3 separate regions of the Homo sapiens genome follow, and regions 1 and 3 are each linked to region 2. The links are contacts of gene promoters, found by promoter capture Hi-C in human tissues and cell types (Jung and others, 2019). All regions are on one chromosome and are shown on one strand. Each heading gives the region's core, a stretch centred on a gene start or on the middle of the fragment in contact. The rest is flanking DNA. Distances are from core to core; before and after follow the strand shown. Region 1 overlaps RMI1 (RecQ mediated genome instability 1). Region 2 holds the start of SLC28A3 (solute carrier family 28 member 3). Region 3 overlaps NTRK2 (neurotrophic receptor tyrosine kinase 2).

The links. Contacts are between HindIII fragments. The study calls those that stand out against the background at their distance.
Region 1: a fragment that was not itself captured here is called in contact with the fragment with the promoter of SLC28A3 in region 2 in 2 of the 25 tissues and cell types used here (aorta and stomach).
Region 3: a contact is called between a fragment that was not itself captured here and the fragment with the promoter of SLC28A3 in region 2, in 2 of the 25 tissues and cell types used here (dorsolateral prefrontal cortex and lymphoblastoid cells).

The regions. Positions count from the first base shown.
Region 1 is chr9:83,999,015-84,002,111 of GRCh38, forward strand. It overlaps RMI1 (RecQ mediated genome instability 1), which reads left to right. Exons shown (of 3, transcript NM_001358291.2): 2 at 695-783; 3 at 1,937-3,097. The coding sequence starts at 1,973. Among named protein-coding and RNA genes, the nearest start is that of RMI1, 20 kb to the left of the region's middle. The HindIII fragment of the contact is 5,241 bases long and covers 1-3,097 here.
Region 2 is chr9:84,339,416-84,342,880 of GRCh38, forward strand. It overlaps SLC28A3 (solute carrier family 28 member 3), which reads right to left and starts at 1,343. Exons shown (of 18, transcript NM_001199633.2): 1 at 1,159-1,343. The coding sequence starts at 1,218. The HindIII fragment of the contact is 14,043 bases long and covers 1-3,465 here.
Region 3 is chr9:84,795,902-84,799,315 of GRCh38, forward strand. All of the region lies in intron 12 of NTRK2 (neurotrophic receptor tyrosine kinase 2), which reads left to right. Among named protein-coding and RNA genes, the nearest start is that of NTRK2, 130 kb to the left of the region's middle. The HindIII fragment of the contact is 5,426 bases long and covers 1-3,414 here.

The sequences.
Region 1 (3,097 bases), core at 87-2,586, 340 kb before region 2:
CCTGTAGTCCCAGCTACTGGGGATGCTGAGGCAGGAGAATCGATTGAACCTGGGAGGCAGAGGTTGCAGTGAGCCGAGATTGCGCCACTGCAGTCCACCCTGGGCGACAGAGCAAGACTCTGTCTCAAAAAAGTAAAATAAAATAGAATAAAATAGAATAGAATAAAATAAAATAAAAAAAAATAAAATAACAATAAGTATAGTTTTTGAGTGGCTGCTTTTTGCCAGTTGCTGTAGTAGGCACTGTAAGTCTAATAATAGTATACATTTACTGAGTTCTCGCTGTGTGCCAGGTGCTGCTTTTTTCATATTAATCTAATCTTCATAACAAGCCTGAGGAAAATCCTGTTATTCTTGTTTTACAAATCAGATAAGGATAAGTAGGATATCATGAAGTTGAGTAACTTGTTTAGAGTCAGAGGTTATAAGTAAGAGTTTATGATATAGTCTAGCACCAGAGATGTACTCTTAACATCAAATACTATACCTCCTATCTTCTTTAATTTTCACAGTAAGCCTATGAGGTAAGTATATAGAAAAGGAAACAGGCTTAGAGAGAATGTGTAACTTTCTCATGGTCTCTTGTTTCTGATCCCCATGAACCATACCATCAAACTCTTGCACTTAAGAAAATAGTCCTGTCTTTCTACAACTTCATCTTATAACTCTTACTGCTTTTTGTCTTATCTCCCAGGGCCATTTCTGAGCAGTGGAGGTTTCAAGTAATCCACTAACAACCAGTTCCAAATTCTGTCATCAAATCCTGTGCTGCTGTTCCTCGTGGTAAGTTTTCTTATGGACATAGTAAAACTTTAATATATTCTACTTCATAAATATCTTCATCTGTAGAAGGAACAAAGTATACTTTTGTGAACACATGATTGATTGGGCTTTACTGTTTTGCTACTGCTTTATCATACTGAGAAAATCAGAAGTTAAATATTTATATATTTGCCTGGCCAGACTTTTGAAAATATTTAGCCCAACAAATAAGATGCTTTACATCTATCAGCTCAGAGTCTGCTGTTATTTGTTATAATTTTATCTTTAGACCACATATTCAAGTACTAAATGGACAGACACAGTGGTATGTTTTAATAGAGTTAAATTAGAACTATTGCACATACATAAAGAACATTAGTGAACATTGTTTCTTAACTAAATTTTAAATGATTAGAATGTGATTATTAGATCAATTATAATATATTATACAGTAGTCTCCCTTTCTCCGTGGTTTTGCTTTCTGTGGTTTCAGTTATCTGCAGTCAACCAAGGTCTGAAAATATTTAGCAGAAAATTCCAGAAATAATTCATAAGTTTTAAATTTAGTGCTGTTCCGAATAGTGTGATGAAATCATACCCTGGACTTGGATCATCCCTTTGTCCAGCATATCTATGCTGTTTATGCTACCCACCCTTTAGTCACTTAGTAGCTGGTTGGTCATCGGATTTAAAAAAATAATATATATTAAGTTTGATAATATTTAGAGTTTCAGACATCCACTGGGGGTATTGGAGCATATTCCCCATAGATAAGGGAGGCTAATGTAACTACTGTTTACTGAATATCCTTTATAGGTCTGACATTATGCTTTACAAATATAATTCATGTGATCCTGTTAACAATCCTATAAGATAGATGGTAGTGTTGACATTTTATAGATGAAAAAACTGGTTACAGAAGTTGAGAATTTTATATTAGGTCACATATCTTGTAACTTGACAGAGCCAGCTTTCAAACCTAGGTATAGCTGTCTCAAACCTTTTGATTTTCTCATTTTACCATCTGATTATGTGTAGTGTTTCAATTTCGACCATGTAAGATGCTGAAGAGTGAAAAATCTAAAGGGTGTGCCTGTCTGTGCATTGTAGAGAATTACAGAAGCTGTATTCAAATATACTGAATTATCTAAATTTTTTTGTTTTTTGTTTTCAGGTAATAGATGCATATTATTTCTTTTATTTAAAAGAAATGAATGTGACTAGTATTGCATTAAGAGCTGAAACTTGGCTTTTAGCTGCATGGCATGTTAAAGTACCTCCGATGTGGCTGGAAGCTTGTATTAACTGGATTCAAGAAGAAAATAATAATGTTAACTTGAGTCAGGCCCAAATGAATAAACAAGTGTTTGAGCAGTGGCTCCTTACTGATCTGAGGGATTTGGAGCATCCTCTTTTACCCGATGGCATTTTAGAAATTCCAAAAGGAGAATTAAATGGATTTTATGCTCTGCAGATTAATTCCTTGGTTGATGTAAGTCAGCCTGCATACTCCCAGATACAGAAGTTGAGAGGAAAGAATACAACAAATGATCTAGTTACAGCTGAAGCACAAGTAACCCCAAAACCTTGGGAAGCAAAGCCTTCACGAATGTTGATGCTGCAGCTAACTGATGGAATCGTACAAATACAGGGAATGGAATATCAGCCTATTCCAATTCTTCATAGTGATCTTCCTCCAGGTACAAAAATTTTGATTTATGGAAATATATCTTTCCGTCTTGGTGTTCTCTTATTGAAACCAGAAAACGTGAAAGTGTTAGGAGGTGAAGTAGATGCTCTTTTAGAAGAATATGCCCAAGAAAAAGTACTTGCAAGATTAATAGGGGAACCTGATCTTGTAGTTTCAGTCATACCAAACAATTCTAACGAAAACATTCCCAGAGTTACAGATGTTCTAGATCCTGCATTAGGTCCTTCTGATGAAGAACTCTTGGCAAGTCTTGATGAAAATGATGAGCTTACAGCAAATAATGACACTTCCTCAGAACGATGTTTCACCACAGGTAGTTCCTCAAATACCATTCCCACAAGACAGTCAAGTTTTGAGCCAGAATTTGTTATTTCTCCAAGACCAAAAGAGGAACCATCAAACCTATCTATACATGTAATGGATGGAGAATTAGATGACTTTTCACTGGAGGAGGCCTTGCTTTTAGAAGAAACTGTCCAGAAAGAACAGATGGAAACTAAGGAATTGCAACCATTGACTTTTAACAGAAATGCCGATCGAAGTATAGAGAGATTTTCACATAATCCTAATACTACGAATAACTTTTCTTTGACTTGCAAAAATGGAAACAATAATTGGAGTGAA
Region 2 (3,465 bases), core at 93-2,592:
ATTTTTGTATTTTTAGTAGAGATGGGGTTTCACTATGTTGGCCAGGCTGGTCTCAAATTCCTGACCTCAAATGATCAGCCCGCCTCAGCCTCCCAAAGTGCTAGGATTACAGGCATGAGGCACCACTGCCAGCCACATGTGAGATTTTAAATATGAATAAAATTTGCGTGCCTTTTCTCCTGCTAATCTGTTTTATGTTGGTTTAATTTGCAGGCCTCAGGCACTCAACCTAAGAGGGTAGATGAAGTTGTTTCCTCTCCTACACTTGTGACCTATAAGTGGTAACCCGATGCCTACTCATGGAGATGGGCATCACTGTGACCATGGGACAGATGATCAAACTTGGGCTCTGGGAAGTTACAGGAATTTGTGGGTGCTGGAGTCTGAACTCCTGTCAAAGCCCTTTTACCTCCCTCTTTCCTTTCTTGGCTAGCACCTCAAAGTTTTGTTTTGCCCATCTAGCAGACCGTAAAGTCCAAGGGATTGTTGACACTTGCCGGTGCAGGCTTCCCATCTTCTCCAGAGCGCCCATGCTGAGTGTCAGCTAAGGAAAGGAAGCACACCTAAAAACAGCCCTGGAAATCCCCATCCCAGACCCAGTCAAAATAGCCTGGTGTTTCTGACAGGTCTCCTTCTATGTCTCTGCGGGCACCCAGCCTCGGGCTGAGCAGCATTAATCACTCAGTGAGTTTTGGTTGATGAAGTGAGACTGATTTGCGTAATCCAGCTGCTCTGGGGCAGGTACCGGGGCCATCTGACAGGGGCTCCAGGACTTGGCTTGAGTAAAAGGAACCCTGAGACACTACCCCAGCCAGGATCTAAATTCCCCCATTTTTCCCTTCTCACCAGTTCTTTGGAAAAGTGCCTGAAGATAAATAATGGACCCCTGCTGTGAGCCAGAAGGGAAAAAAGGCAAGAGAAGAAGGCTGTCTTGTTTCTAAGTGACCATAGGGATCACAACACATCGATTAAAAGAGACTTTTCAGGTTTGTCAACCCAGAAGAGCCCAAGAAGAAAAAATAATGGGCTTAAAGTGTGCCGTTAAAAATCGTATTGTCCTGATAATCTCCCTGCTTAGGTAAGAAACTTGCCAAGGGGCTAAGGAAAGGGCAGCTTTTCCACTGAAGGCCTTTAACATAAGAGGAAAGCTCTGCTCACCTGGAAGCCCACGTTGCTGTAGCCCTCAGCTCTGGGGGCTGCTGTACTCCTCAGCTCCATGCTCTTTTTGCTGCTGGCTGGCTCTGGTCTGGAGGTCCTTTGTACCTGGGAAAAAGCACCAGTCTCTGCTGATGTCAGAAAGCCACCTGCTGTTACAGGGACCTGGGCACAGCTTGCTTCAGTTTGGAAACTTCTGCAATAATCTCCTGAATGACTAGGGCTGACACCTGGTTGGGGTGGGGCAGAGAGGCGGGCGGGTTGGCGGGGTGGAGGCATCTAGTGCTGGCCCGCCCACCTTATTAATCTTTTCCTTTATCCCCATTTTTGGCATCCTATTTGCACTCCTGGGGAGAAAACTCTTGTGGTGCACAAAACAGAAAAGGACACTTTCTTTTTCTTTCTTTCTTTCTTTTTTTTTTTGAGATGGAGTCTCAAAAAAAAAAAGGCTGGAGTGCAGTGACGCAATCTCGGTTCACTGCAACCTCTGCCTCCCAGGTTCAAGCAATTCTCCTGCCTCAGCCTCTCAAGTAGCTGGGATTACAGGTGCATGCCACCACACCTGGCTGACTTTATTTTTAGTAGAGACGGGGTTTCACCATGTTGGCCAGGCTGTTCTTGAACTCCTGACCTCAAGTGATCCACCTGCCTTGGCCTCCTAAATTGCTGGGATTACAGGCATGAGCCACCGTGCCCAGCCAGAAAAGGACACGTTCTCTATAGTGCTTAGTGAAATCCTCTGTTTTCCTGTGGGTGGTGTTAAAGACTAGGAGTGGTGGTGGGGTGGAGGGTGAGTGAACACAGGATATAAGGTCATGCCGCCCTCAGTGATCACCTACTGTATACCAGGGATGGATAGATGGATAGATACATAGACAGATAGGTAGGTAGGTAAGGGTCTTGGCTCTTCTTCCGAACAACTCAAAATTCTATACTGAAGTACAGAAAAGTTAACAATTTGTTTAGTGTCATTTAGCTAATAAAGGGATAATGAGAATTCAAATTCAAGTTTGGTTAATTCCAAAACCTTTTATTACATCCCTGCTTCAGACTGGGCTGCTTTCAAAAATCCAGCTTACAGAAATGCCGATATGTGACAAGTAAATGAAAGGTGACCAGCTATTCAATTATCAAAAGTGAATAGAAGTGCTTTGTTTTCATAAAGCAATTCACTTTGCTTTATGAAAATATTAGCTGTAGAATTCTTTTAAAATAGGGATTTTCCCCCCTAGTACAATTTAAAATACTGCAAAACTGTGGACAAAAGAATGGAAAAGGCCTGGTGCGGTGGCTCACGCCTGTAATCCCAGCACTTTGGGAGCCCAAGGCGGGTGGATCACTTTAGGCCAGGAGTTCAAGACCAGCCTGGCCAACATGGCGAAACTCCATCTCTACTAAAAATACAAAAATTAGCCAGGAGTGATAACGTGCGCCTGTAGTCCCAGCTACTCGGGAGGCTGAGGCGGGAGAATCGCTTGAACCCAGGAGACACAGATTGCAGTGAGCCGAAAACGCACCGCTGCCTCCCATCTGGATGACAGAGTGAGACCCTGTCTCAAAAAAAAAAAAAAAAAGAAAAGAAAAAGAAAAAGAAAAAGTAAGAAAATACCAAGTATTATGAGTGGTTATTTCTCGGTTTTTAATTTTATGGGCAGTTGGTGTTTTTTTTTTCTCCTTCAAATGCTGCTGAGTTTTCTATAAAGAGAATGATTTACTTTTATTATTGTTAACCTAAAGGAAAAAACGGAGACAAACTTAATGTAAGTATAGAGTTTATTTGGTCTAAGTTTGAGATTGCAACTTGGGAGCACATATTCAAGTTGCTCTGAATATACACTTAGTAGCAGTTACAAGTAGATTCTTGTGTGTGTGTGTGTGTGTTCTGTTGCCCAGGCTGGAGTGCATGATCATGGCTTGCTGCAACCTTGACCTCCTGGGCTGAAGCTATCCTCCTGTCTCAGCCTCCCGAGTAGCTGGGACTACAGACAGGTGCCATCACCCATGGCTAAATTTTTTTTTTTTTTTTGGTAGAACTGGGGGCCTCACTATGTTGCCCAGACTTGTCTTGAACTCCTGGGCTCAAGCAATCTTCCCACCTGCCTTGGTTTCCAAAAGTGCTGGGATTACAGGCACTGTGCCTGGCCACAAGTGAATTTTAAAGGAAAAGAAGGAGTTTCTGAGTTGTTTACCAATTATTTACATTAAAATAACATAAGCTATTGATTGGCTATACATTGCTATTTGTATCACACATTCTAGGAACAGAAAGGCAGCCAGTCAGGAACAAAATTCCTTTAAAACAATTGCCCC
Region 3 (3,414 bases), core at 92-2,591, 460 kb after region 2:
TAGAGTTCCAGGTGCTATATAGATGTCACAATGTCACTTCAAAGCTGATTACTTTTCTTTTTTTTTTTTTTGGTAGTAGCTAAGATTCTTTAATTTATAGTTGACCACATCCCTGCTCCCTATCTCACAGAACTGACGCCAAGGCCTCCATGAATTGTGTCACATGGGATTGCATTAGCTACTGCAACCAACAAATAAAAACAGCAACCACTTAAACAGATAGGTTTTTTTCGCACAGCAAGAATTCTGGGATCCAGGGTTATTAAGGTGGCTTAATGTTATCAGGGACATTCTGGCTCTTTCCACCTTTCATATCTGCTATCCTCAGCATCTAGGCCTTCTCCTCTTGTTTGTGACCTAGTGGTCTCAAAAAGGCTGCTTTGCCTCAAGACCTTAAAACTATATCCCAACTAGAAAGAATGAAGAAGGATAAGGAGGCTTTTTCTTTTAATTCAAGATTAGAAGATCCTTCCCCCTTACCTTCTAGCTATATCTCAGTGGCCAGAGTTATGTCACGAGCCCACACTTAGTTTCAAGAGGTGCTGGGAAAAAGTATATTGGATCCTTTCCATCCAGGGTAGAGGAAGACAAAGGAAAGGGGGTTTGTGAATGGATTTTGAACAGCCAATCTACAATATCTGCCAAAGGTCAGACAGAGGTCCTTAGACAGAGAGCAGTAAAGCTATTTCAAAAGATGGTATTAATCTATGATGTCATAGGATTACAATTTATTTAGCTTTTCTGAAAGTTCAAAAACTCTTGCTGATTCAGATCATTAATTTAGTGAGGAATTGGGTTGGTGGAATATTAGGGTATCTTTCATGAACAAAGGAATTTCTAAATTAATGACTAGTGGAAACAAGATGGGTGGTAGGAATCATATATCACCATCTTAGGAAACAAACTTTTTAAGCATTTTCAAAGGAATCTCATGAAAACAATTGATGAATCATATAATCTTAAATTATTTTTTTCTTTTGGGTAAGGCTGAATTACCCCCTACTTGCCAAAACATGCTGGAAATGTTTTATTGGCTTAATTTTGATTCCTTTATATATATGAAAGTAATAAAGCTGCATTTCTTTAAATATATTTCCTAACTTAGAGCTTTCATAAATTCACACTGGCTTTTATTTCTAGTCTTAATAAATTAGATTCTACCGCATATTGAATATACCCTGTTAAGTATATTGAAACAGTACGATGTTCACTGAAGGAGGAAGCTTAACATGGGAAAAATTAAAGAAATAAAGAGAGCATCAGGCAGGTGGTTGCATTACCCAAAGGTGAGCAAATTACAGCCCCTGGGCCAGATCTCACCTGCTATCTATTTTTCATAAATTTAAGTTTTACTGGAACACACCGACTCATTTCTCACATGTTGTCTATGTTGCTTTCATACTACAATGGCAGAATGAGCAGTTGTGGCAGAAATGGAATGACCTGAAAATTTGAAAATTATTTACTATTTGTCCCTTTGCAGAAAAAGTTTGGTGATACCTGCATAACTAGTTATGGGGGATTCCGTGAAAGCTGAACACAGTGACTGGATCCCTCTTCTCTTCATGTGGAAATTACTTTAATGTTTAAGTAAAGTAACATAATAATTACTATTATTATTACTATAATAATGTATATATAATATATATATTATATATACTATATATTATATATATTATATATACTATATATACTATATATTATATATAATATATATACTATATATTATATATTATATATACTATAATAATATATATATTATATATTATATATTATATATACTATAATATATATATTATATATACTATAATAATATATATATTATATATTATATATACTATAATATATATTATATATACTATAATAATATATATAATATATATTATATATACTATAATAATATATATATTATATATTATATATACTATAATAATATATATATTATATATTATATATACTATAATAATATATATAATATAGTAATAATTATTATTACTATAATAATTACTAATTACTATTAATATTTACTATTAGTAAAATATATAAAGTAAAATGTAGCAGTAGTGTGTTCAGGACTCCTGGGTATGAGCCATTGGGACTGTCTTAGTCTTGCCGCTATAACAAAGTATCACAGACTGGGTGGTTGATAAACAACAGAAATTTATTTTTCACAGTCCTGGAGGCTGGGAAGTCCGATATCAAGGCACCAGCAGATTCATTGTCAGGTGAGGGCCCATTTTCTGGTTCATAGATGGCACCTTCTCATTGTGTCTTCATCTGGTGGAAGGAGCGCATGAGCTCCCTTGGGCCTCTTTTGTGAGGACATTAATTTCATTCATGAGGGCTCCACCCTCATGACCTAGTTATTATACCTCCCAAATGCCCCACCTGTTAATATCATCACACTGGGAATTAGGTTTCAGCATATGAATTTTAGGAGGACACACACATTCAGACCATAGGAGGGGTATTAATTTTCATATCAAAACAATGGGTTCTGTTTCTGTCTTCAGCTTTAGCCTGTCATGAAAGATGGTCTCACCATATTGTATTTCATTCTAGCACTGAGTCTGCTGCTGACACAATGACAGGGGCCCTGAGTCTGCCCTTGGCTGGCCCTGTGCCCTGGAGCAAGTTACTTAACCTCTCAGAAACTTACCTTCCTTATGTCCTAAGTGAAAGGGTGATATTGACTGAAGAAAATGGGCTATAGGGTCTCCAAATTTCCTTTCTTCACAAAAGTTCCCGGATACAGTGATAAGACAGCCTATTTCTTATCTGACACAGATGATTATTTTTATTTACAATCTCAACCTGAATTGTCTTTTCCGTTTGGTGCGTATGTTGACCAGTGTGTCCTAACAAAGTAGATCTGTTTCATTCATTTGCAACTCTTTGTGAACATAAAGCATTTGCCACTTCAAGGACAAAAGCTGAGACCTAGGTCTGCAGATAATGGAAACAGCTGATATTTACTGAACACCTGCTATATGCCAGACACTTCTAAGTGCTATATATATATATATATATATATATATATGCTTATTTAATCTGCACATCAGCCCCAAATTAACTATTATCATTAGCTCCATTTTATAGGCAAGAAAACTGAGGCAACTTGCCCAAGGTCACACAGTCATTTGGGTATTCCACCTTCAGGGCCCATTCTTTCAACCACTCTTCTTTCTGCCTCTCAGTGGGTCAGGCTTTAGCACAGTGGCTGTTCTCCATCTTCACATCAATCAAGGGGAAAAACAGGTATGAGAGATGCAGGTTGGCATTCCTAGAAATTATGACACTTGAAAATTAGAACAAGACTTTCATTCACCAAAGATCTACTCTGTGCCTTCAAGATCATGCTTCAAGGCTCCTTTTCTCAGCCTGCTGTTCTCCTAAGTCAGATAAAAAAAAAAT